3 separate regions of the Homo sapiens genome follow, and regions 2 and 3 are each linked to region 1. Evidence: promoter capture Hi-C in 16 types of primary human blood cells and fetal thymus (Javierre and others, 2016). All regions are on one chromosome and are shown on one strand. The core of a region is centred on a gene start or on the middle of the fragment in contact, and the rest is flanking DNA. Distances in the headings are between cores, read along the strand shown. Region 1 holds the start of RUFY3 (RUN and FYVE domain containing 3). Region 2 overlaps DCK (deoxycytidine kinase). Region 3 overlaps DCK (deoxycytidine kinase).

The links. Contacts are between HindIII fragments. The CHiCAGO score rates a contact against its expected background, and 5 or more counts as called.
Region 2: a fragment that was not itself captured here is called in contact with the fragment with the promoter of RUFY3 in region 1 in 1 of 17 cell types (fetal thymus); the score reaches 5.3 in fetal thymus.
Region 3: a contact is called between a fragment that was not itself captured here and the fragment with the promoter of RUFY3 in region 1, in 2 of 17 cell types (total B cells and monocytes). The highest score is 5.5, in total B cells.

What each region holds. Positions count from the first base shown.
Region 1 is chr4:70,720,153-70,723,479 of GRCh38, forward strand. It overlaps RUFY3 (RUN and FYVE domain containing 3), which reads left to right and starts at 1,812. Exons shown (of 18, transcript NM_001037442.4): 1 at 1,812-2,599. The coding sequence starts at 2,422. The HindIII fragment of the contact is 24,519 bases long and covers 1-2,301 here.
Region 2 is chr4:71,003,320-71,007,073 of GRCh38, forward strand. All of the region lies in intron 2 of DCK (deoxycytidine kinase), which reads left to right. Among named protein-coding and RNA genes, the nearest start is that of DCK, 12 kb to the left of the region's middle. RefSeq lists enhancers at 916-1,612, 1,305-1,564, 3,085-3,224 and a silencer at 1,013-1,307. The HindIII fragment of the contact is 485 bases long and covers 1,011-1,495 here.
Region 3 is chr4:71,023,774-71,027,150 of GRCh38, forward strand. It overlaps DCK (deoxycytidine kinase), which reads left to right. Exons shown (of 7, transcript NM_000788.3): 5 at 2,043-2,158; 6 at 2,892-2,982. Among named protein-coding and RNA genes, the nearest start is that of DCK, 32 kb to the left of the region's middle. The HindIII fragment of the contact is 1,456 bases long and covers 657-2,112 here.

The DNA of each region.
Region 1 (3,327 bases), core at 562-3,061:
GTGATTCTTCCACCTCAGTCTCCCAAGTAGCTAGGACCACATGTGCGCGCAACCATACCTTGCTAATTTTTGTTTTTGTAGAGATGGAGTTTTGCCATGTTGCCCAGGCTGGTTTCAAACTCCTGAGCTCAAGCCATTCACCTGCCTCAGCCTCCCAAAGTGCTGGGATTACAGGCACATGCCACCACATCTGACTAATTTTTGTATTTTTAGTAGAGATGAGGTTTCACCATGTTGGCCAGGCTGGTCTCGAACTCCTGACCTCAGGTGATTTGCCCGCCTTGGCCTCCCAAAGTGCTGGTATTATAGGCATGAGCCACCGCGCCCAGCCATCCGCCCTGTCTTCGTAACAATATGAAAATGCCAGTTTCTCTACAGAATTTGATTATTAGCATTTTTTTCTTTCAGTTCAGTCTCAAATTATGATGAAGCATTTGAGATTTTAACAATATTCAAGGAGAATTTTTTTAGTTTTCAGAAATTAGGTAAATCAAGATGTCCCTCTGATAACAATCCCTAGAAAGGAATAGTCTCAGGTCATATTTCTTGAATTTGTATGTTCCTCCTTAAAATTGGAACCCTTCAATACAAAAACAAACAAACACTTTCTTTCAATTGTCCAAAACATTTTCAAAGAAAATTCTTATTCTTCTCTTTGTAATTTATGTAGTTCATAAAGCAAGTACCTGCCCTTTTGCTACCAAGGTATAAATGCCTCATTGGATAATATAGGGCCGTGTGTGTGTGTGTGTGTGTGTGTGTGTGTGTGTGTGTGTGTGTGTATTAAGAAAATATAATTGTCTTCAGTATCTTATCGAATGGGAGGATTTTAAAAATATAACATGGTTTAATCTGCTTAGAAACATATTTCATGCTTAAGGCTGGGCATGGTGGCTCACGCCTGTAATCCCAGCACTTTGGGAGGCTGAGGTGGGAGGATCATGAGGTCAGAAGTTCAAGACCAGCCTGGCCAAGATGGTGAAACCCCGTCTCTACTAAAAATACAAAAATTAGCTGGGCGTGGTGGTGGGTGCCTGTAATCCCAGCTACTCGGGAGGCTGAGGCAGAGAATTGCTTGGACCTGGGAGCTGAGATCACGCCACTGCACTCCAGCCTGGGCTACAGAGCAAGACTCTGTCTCAAAAAAGAAAAAAGAAAAAAAAAGAAACGTATTTTATGCTTAATACAGAAACTTGATAAATACAACAAAATCAAAAAGGGGGGAAATTGCCATTAATTGGGAAAGATTTTACTTTTTTAACTTGAAGTTTTTTTTTTGCATTTCTGCCTAACCTAAAAGGTCAGGTTTTTGTACCTTGGAGAAGGAAATTATAAATGCCCAAGAATAAGATATTTAAATTGAAAATCTACTTTAGCTTTTCTTTTTATCTTTTTGTTTTTTTTCCCTCTGAGAACCTCAATTTTTTATGCTTTAGCTTTTCTTAAAACATAACATTTAGCATAGTAAAGAATTTTAATAGCTATGTAGATAAGAATGAAAGAGGTGAATTATATGCTTGTTAAATTAATCTAACTGCCTCTTTTACCATCTTTACTATAGATTATTATCCGGTATTAATTGTCATCCTTTTATTCAGTCCTTGATCCCAAAGTAAGAAGAATTGATGAGGATATGTGCATTGTGTTATGTCTGATCACAGTTTGACTAGCACAGTCTGGAAGTGGGTTGTACAGGATGAGAGAGAGAAGCCTAATTGCTCTCCCAGCATCAGCAGCATCTATAAAGCATCCTGGGAATTGCTTGCCCTACGTTCAGAGCAGCTGGTCACATGAGCCTGAATTTTCAGTTCAGTTCATTAGTCAGCCATTTTGGTCAACACCCTGCTTACTGCGCACGGCCAATCCTATGAGAACTCAGCATCCCAGCTCATCTGAGCAGATCCTGGAAGTGATTTCTGCAGCTCAGGATTTTTTTTTTAAGCTACATTGAAAATATAGGTTTATTTTTTGTTCAGGTTTTTCTTTTATATTTTTTTTCTGCACAAAGGAGGAGGATTTTTCACTTACTCATATCGAGGCCAGATTTTTAAAGCCAGCTAAGGCAGCATCAGCTGTGCGGGATTTAAAGCCTATAGCTCAGCTGAAAAAAAAGGTGGGGGGCAGGGAAGGGAAGATAAAAGGAGAGGAAGCTGGGAGAAGACAAGCATCATCTTATTTTGCTATGTGGTAGGAACTGTCTATAAGATAGTGTAGAATTGTTTATCTTGAGCAGTTTGTTCTTAACCTATAAGGTATTTTTCCTTTTTTTTTTTTTTAAACCTCCCCCACCCTTTTCCTGAAAGCTTTGTTTCAGAGCTTTGTATTGGGTTTTTTTGGTGAGGAGGTTGTATTTATTTTTTTGGTGTGTGTGTGTGAGTGTGTGTGTGTCTGTGTGTGTGTTGTGGTCCCAGCTGAGTCATCATGTCTGCTCTGACGCCTCCGACCGATATGCCAACCCCCACCACTGACAAGATCACACAGGCTGCCATGGAGACCATCTACCTTTGCAAATTCCGAGTGTCCATGGATGGAGAATGGCTCTGCCTGCGAGAGCTGGATGACATCTCACTTACACCTGACCCAGAGCCTACCCATGAAGGTATGGTCAGATCCTGTCCGCTAGTATTTCACCAGCATCCTCATTGTTATGGGGGAGGGCTGGGAGGATCAGGGAGAGGTAGAAAGAACCTACACTCTCAACTGTTAACAGTCCTGAAAACCTTGCATCCTTACTTACCACCCAGCTCCCCTTCTCTTGCTCATGGGGGAAAGATAATTTTTTTTCTTGCCCCTTTAGGTATCCTTTCAAAAGATGCTGGATACTCGTTTAGAGTTCTTTGTCTTTAAGCCTCTAAATAAAACATTTGAGGTCACTTATCACATCTGATTCTATTCAATAATGAGAAAGCTATTAATTTTGTTCATATATGAAAATGTTATAGAAATTGTAGTGATTTATAACACTAAGTTAAGACAACATGACTATAATTATAGGATTGTACATGATGAATACAGTAGAAACACCAGGGTATTTGGTAATGGTATCCTCACCATTATATGAGGATACAATTTTAAGCAAGTTATGACATCTAGGAAATGTTTGATAAAACATTTTTTTAACAATATGGATTATTAGGTTAGATGAGAAAATAACTTTTCAGCATTTATTTATTGAATATGGACTCCTAAGAAAGCATAATGCCTGGAAAGGTTAAATATGATTAATATGGCATCCCTATAGATTACAATAGAATGGTAATATTGGAATCTATTGGCCATTGCTTTTTATAAATTATTTGTGGTAACTATTATGATCCATTTGAGATT
Region 2 (3,754 bases), core at 3-2,502, 280 kb after region 1:
AGATCTGCTGTTAGTCTGATGGGCTTCCCTTTGTGGGTAACCCGACCTTTCTCTCTGGCTGCGCTTAACATTTTTTCCCTCATTTTAACCTTGGTGAATCTGACGATTATGTGTCTTGGCGTTGCTCTTCTCAAGGGCATCTTTGTGATGTTTTCTGTATTTCCTGGATTTGAATGTTGGCCTGTCTTGCTAGGTTGGGGAAGTTCTCCTGGATAATAATCCTGAAATGTGTTTTCCAACTTGGTTCCATTCGTCAGTTTCAGGTATACCAGTCAAACGTAGGTTTGGTCTTTTCACATAGTCCCATATTTCTTGGGAGGCTTTGTTTGTTCCTTTTCATTCTGTTTTCTCTAATCTTATCTTCACGCTTTATTTTTATTAAGTTTTTCTTCAATCTCTGATATCCTTTCTTCCACTTAATCGATTCGGCTATTGATACTTGTGTATGCTTCACCAAGTTCTCATGCTGTGTTTTTCAGCTCCATCAGGTCATTTATGTTCTTCTGTAAACTGGTTATTCTAGTTAGCAGTTCCTGTAACCGTTTATCAAGGTTCTTAGTTCCTTGCATTGGGTTAGAACGTGCTGCTTTAGCTCAGTGGAGTTTGTTATTAACCCACCTTCTGAGGCCTACTTCTGTCAATTCGTCACACTTATTCTCCATCCAGCTTTGTTCTCTTGCTGGCGAGGAGTTGTGGTCCTTTGGAGGAGAAAAGACATTCTGGTTTTTGGAATTTTTAGCTTTTTTGCACTGGCTTTTCTTCATCTTTGTGGATTTATCTACCTTTGGTCTTTGATGTTGGTGAACTTCAGATGGGGTTTTTGCGTGGTTGTCCTTTTTGTTGATGTTGATGCTATTGCTTTTTGTTTGTTAGTTTCCTTCTAACAGTCAGGCCCCTCTGCTGCAAGTCTGCTGGAGTTTGCTGGAGGTCCACTGCAGATCCTGTTTGCCTGGGTATCACCAGCGGAGGCTGCAGAACAGCAAAGATTGCTGCCTGCTCCTTCCTCAGGAAGCTTTGTCCCAGAGGGGCACCTGCCAGAGGCTAGCCAGAGCTCTCTTATATGAGGTGTCTGCCGACCCCTGCTGGGAGCTGTGTCCTAGTCAGGAGGCATGGGGGTCATGGACCCACTTGAGGATGCTGCCTGTCCTTTAGCAGAGCTTGAGCGCTGCGCTGGGAGTTCCACTGCTCTCTTCAGAGCCAGCAGGCAGGATTGTTTAAGTCTGCTGAGGCTGCACTCACAGCCACGCCTTCCCCCAGATGCTCTGTCCCAGGGAGATGGGAGTTTGATCTGTAAGTCCCTGACGGGGGCTGCTGCCTTTCTTTCAGAGATGCCCTGCCCAGAGAGGAGGAATCTAGAGAGGCAGTCTAGCTTCAGGGGTTTGCCAAGCTGTGGTGGGCTCTGCCCAGCTTGAACTTCCAGGTGGTTTTGTTTACACTGTGAGGGGAAAACCACCTACTGAAGTCTCAGTAATGGCGGGCACCCCTCCCCCCACCAAGCTTCAGTGTCTCAGGTTGACTTCAGACTGCTGTGCTGGCAGTGAGAATTTCAAGCCAGTGGATCTTAGCTTGCTGGGCTCCGTGGGGGTGGGATCTGCTGAGCAAGACCACTTGGCTCCCTGGCTTCAGCCCCCTTGGCTCCCTGGCTTCAGCCCCCTTTCTAGGGGAGTGAACGGTTCTGTCTCGCTGGCATTCCAGGCACCACTGGGGTATGAAAAAAAACTCCTGCAGCTAACTCCGTGTCTGCCCAAATGGCTGTCCAGTTTTGTGCTTGAAACCCAGGGCCCTTGTGTAGGCACCCGAGGGAATCTCCTGGTCTGCGGGTTGTGAAGACTGTGGGAAAAAGCCTAGTATCTGGGCTGGATAGCACCATCCCTCAAGGCTTCCCTTGGCTAGGGGAGGGAGTTCCCCCACCCCTTTCACCTTCCAGGTGAGGCGATGCCCCACCCTGCTTCTGCTTGGCCTCTGTGGGCTGCACCCACTGTATAACCAGTCCCAATGAGATGAATTGGGTACTTCAGTCGGAAATGCAGAAATCACCCGTCTTCTGCATTGGTCTCACTGGGAGCTGCAGACCAGAGCTGTTCCTATTTGGCCATCTTGCCTGGGAATCTAAAAGTTTTTAAAAAGTTAAATAATAAAAGTTTTAAAAAATCTAACAGCAAATTAAATTCCTTCATTGTCTTTTCTAATTTTTTTTTTTTTTTGAGATGGAGTTTCGCTTTTGTTGCCCAGGCTGGAGTGCAATGGCTCGATCTTGGCTCACCACAACCTCCGCCTCCCGGGTTCAAGCGATTCTCCTGCCTCAGCCTCCCAAGTAGCTGGGATTACAAGCATGGGCCACCATGCCTGGCTAATTTTTTTTACTAGAGATGGGGTTTCTCCATGTTGGTCAGGCTGGGCCCAAACTCCTGACCTCAGGTGATCCGCCTGCCTCAGCCTCCCAAAATGTTTGGATTACAGGCCTGAGCCACTATGCCCAACCCTTCAGTGTCTTTTCACATTTTGTTTAAAAACAAGCAAATAAGGCCGGGTGCGGTGGCTCACACCTGTAATCCCAGCCCTTTGGGAGGCCGAGGCAGGTGGATCGCCTGAGGTCAGGAGTTCGAGACCAGCCTGGCCAACATGGTGAAACCCTGTCTCCACTAAACATACAAAAATTAGCTGGGCGTGGTGGTGGGCGCCTGTAATCCCAGCTACTCAGGAGGCTGAGGCGGGAGAATTGCTTGAACCCGGGAGGTGGAGGTTGCAGTGAGCCGAGATCGCGCCATTGCACTCCATCTCAAAAAAAAAAAAAACAGAAAAAACAAAAACACCAAAAAAAAAAAAAAAAAAGCAAATAAGAAAAAGAAAAACTACTATTCAGTAACTGAATTTTACCTTTCAAGCCTTTTGTCATTTACTCTCATTTCTTTTTACTTTCATTCTTGCCAGACTTTCACTCTGGGCAGAAGTTGTAATTTTGCAGCATTTTACCGTTCTGCACTGCAAATGAGGAAGAAAGAGAATGACAGAGTTCAGTGTCATTTTTTTAAATACCAAAATGTATGGTTGTATGTGTGAGAGAGACGTTGCTAAGATTTTCGTTTCTGGAGAAATGAGAATTGAAATTGAAAGCAAGGCCAGGTGTGGTGGTTTATGCATGTAATCCTGGAATTTTTTTTTTTTTAAGTGACAGCAAGTTTATTAGGAAAGTAAAGCAATAAAGAATGGCTACTCCATAGGCAGAGCAGCCAATCCCAGCACTTCGGGAGGCTGAGGCCAGAGGATCGCTTGAGCCCAGGAGTTCAAGACCAGCCTGGGCAACATAGGGTGACCCCGTCTCTACAAAAAATTTAAAAATTAGCTAGGTGTGGTAGCCTGCACTTGGGGTTACAGCTACTTGGAAGGCTGAGGTTGGAGGACTGCTTGAGCCCAAGAAATTGAGACTGTAGTGAGCCATGCTCATGCCACTGTACTCTAGCCTGAGTGACAGCAAGACCCTGTCTAAAAGAAAAAAAGAAATTGAAAGCAGTAAGGCAGAAACCTTAAAAATGGAAATGTATGCTAACAACTTACTTTGATCTGAGGAGTACAGAAAATTGAAAAAAAAGTATCTAAAAAAATTTAGCTGTTGGTATAAGGAATTCTGGGAATAATAATTGAATATTTAAAATGTAAATCACATATGCAAAGAGGAATCACTAGCAAGATATTCCATGGACTTTGAGAATATATGGTTTTGAATAACCAAAAATACTTTTTCATACACCTTCTA
Region 3 (3,377 bases), core at 135-2,634, 300 kb after region 1:
TATAATGAGGGCAATTTAGTTTAACTCCAGCCTCCCAACCTCCCACTCCCCACCTCTAAATTAGAAACTTGTAACTGTGTAGATAGAAGCATTCTTTTTTCTCAGCAAACTGGAATCCCAGACTGGGCAAGTTGCTGTTTTAGGCTCTTTGTGCTTCCTCAATTCTTTTTTATTTTACTCATTATTTCTTTCTAACATTTGCAGACTCTTCTCATTCATCACAGTTAAAGTAATGAATGTGGTCAAGCAACTCCTAGAATATAGGCTTCATGAGGTGGGACCTTGGGCATTTTGATTACTATTGAATTTCCATTGCCTAGAACACCCAGTGCTGGGCACTGTTGGAGCATATAGTAGGAGCTCAGTAAATATTTACTGAATGAATGGCAATGTTGATGGAGGTCCATATCAAGAAATATTTTATTATGGTTGTTTGTGCCTTGGAATGAGTGGATAATGGCAGCTATCGTTGGGAAAAGACTTAGAGGACCCTTGCCATTTTCCATTAAGGGAGCTCACTTGAAAAGGTGCTTTTTGTGATAGGTTGTAACATAGCTATTCTAGTTACATATGATGTTATATAATGAATACAGGATGACCAAATAGATGCCTTTCATAAAACTAACCTAAATATTAAGATCTTACATTTAATCAGAAGCTTTCTGGTTTTGGTGCGTGCATTTCTATTGTTTCTGTTTTTTAATTCTCATTTTTTCCTTAAGTCACAGGGTAGGCACTGATGAATGTAAATGTTATGACTTCTGGCCTAAAATTAGAATACTGTGTTGCTGTCGAAGCTGGGTTTTCAAAGAAATTAGGTTTCCTATTCCAACGGATGATTTTGTTCTTCATTAAGTAAAGATTTTGTTCTTCATTAAGCAAGGATTTAGCAATTTTTTAGCAATTTCAAAAGTGAATTTTGAAATTCACTTTTATTTTTGAATTTTTTTGTTTTTAATTACAAAAATAGTAAATAAAAATGTGAAAAAGAACATAAGGAATATGAATAATTTCATTTTGCTTGAAACATTTATAGTCACTATTAAGCTAGAATTTAGCAAATATAATAATTTTGAAATTCACTTTTATTTTTGAAAAGGTTTCTTAAAGTTATGAAAATAGTACAAACACCAAAAACATAAATAATACTAATAATTTCATTTTGATACTGATAATTTCATCAGTATTGTTTCTGATATCTTTGGATGAAAGGATTGTTTAATTATTGAAAAGAGAATTTAGAGTAGAGTTTGAAACACAGTTTGTATGCTGCCATGGTCTTATGCATGTCATTTAGGTTGGAGGCTTTTATTTCTTGGAATGCATGAAGAGTTTCTCATGGTATATGAGCCCCCACAAATTATACGAAATTTTTTATGTATGTGTGCTTTTGGGGGACCGTTATCTAGAGCTGCACTGTCCAATGTGGCTATTTAAATTTAGGGTTATTAAAATTAAATAAAATTTAGATATTTAGTTCCTTGGTCACCACACTAGCCATATTTCAAGTGCTTAAAAACCACAGGTGGCTGGTGGCTACCTTATTTGATAATGCAGATATAGGACAGGCATAAAACATTCCAAAGTTGTTTTGGTTGTGCTGATATAGAGTTTTCATCACATTAAGAACCACTGTCTTTAGTGGTTTTATGTGAACTGAACATAGATATTTTGTAATCAAGGTTGGTTAACAGCAAAGTAAGATTATGTTTATAGATTGGCATACCTTTTAGCTGTTGTCTCTGAACATTTTAAGTAGATGTTTAATTTTTTTCTCCTTTTTATCAAACTTAGTATATTTCATGTGTGGATGGATACCAAAAATTTATAGGCTTATTTTTGAAAGTACTGCTTGGCTTAGAGCCACCAAGTGGCTGAAAAGCTCATGGAGGGAAAAATGAATTATTTCAGCTTTTAAGAAGTAATAAGTAGAGATTTTGGCTAGCGTGAGTAGAGAGACACAGAAAAGAAAATTTTGATGGCAGCAGACAAGAATAATTGTTCCCTGCCTTTTTCTTCCATCTCTTATTACTTGCTTTTAGACATGCTTACATAGAATATATTTACGGGGAAGAAATGAAGAGCAAGGCATTCCTCTTGAATATTTAGAGAAGCTTCATTATAAACATGAAAGCTGGCTCCTGCATAGGACACTGAAGTAAGACTTATTTTTATTTACTATTCATTTTAAATACCTTTGTTACCTTTGTTAAATTTTAATCTAAAATTTGGAAGATATGACTAGCAATATGTAAAATTTCCAGTCGTTTTGCTTATTGGTATCTTCCAGAACTAGGTATAGATTTTCATTCTCTTGATTGCAATGAGATCCTATTTACTTAAAGTTTTTATAACTAGTATCCCTTGGTGGTATTGATAGCGTAATATGTGAAATTTCACTTTAAGTGATAAAGTAGGAATATATCTGAACATTATTTAGGTACTCTTTCAGAAAGAATTTTGACTTGGGAGATTGTATAGCGTGGTTGTTGAGAGGATAGACTTTGTTATTAGTCAGATCTTGGCTCAAGTCCAGTCTTACTGGTGTGTGACCTTGGATAGCCTCTGAGCTTCAGAATGACAATTCTGAGCTTTAGTTTTCTCATCTTTAAAAATGCAGAAATTCCTACTTTATTGACTGCTATTTGTTTTTGAAGAGAATCATATGTTACAGTACCCAGCTGTATATATTTTGTACCTAAGTTTTTGGGCTCCATATGGTAAATCTAGATGAGAAAGAAGGGGCTGCCAGATGAAGTACTGCAAAGTAACTTTAGTGTAAATGATTGACAACATTTTGATTTTCCAAGGACATACGAATGAATTTTTAATGTTTCTCTCTTTTTTTTGTTGAATTTCTGATTATTTTATTAATCTCTCTTTTTAAACAGAACCAACTTCGATTATCTTCAAGAGGTGCCTATCTTAACACTGGATGTTAATGAAGACTTTAAAGACAAATATGAAAGTCTGGTTGAAAAGGTAGATTTAGACAGACTACAAACAAATATTTGTTTTTTCTAAAAAAGTGTACTGAGTGGTGAGAAAACAATTTTCTAACAGAAAAGCTTCCATAAAGTTACATTAAGAAACAGTTAAGAGCTTTAGAAGATTTTGGACTGTTTAAGATTCCAGTCCTGACTAAATTCTAGCTTTGTGGCCTGAGCTAAAATAAAGATCCTTCGGAATCTCAGAATCTGACAGATCTTAGAAAAAAATTAAATAAATAAAAATAAAATAAGGATTTTTTTTTATCCTTTAGTGCCTCTATCTGTAGGATAGGTAAAATTATAATAACAAAAATTCTTTCTCACCCCCTTTTTCTCTGCTTTGTCCCCATTTCTTCCTCTCTTCCCTACACCACCAATCTTTAGATA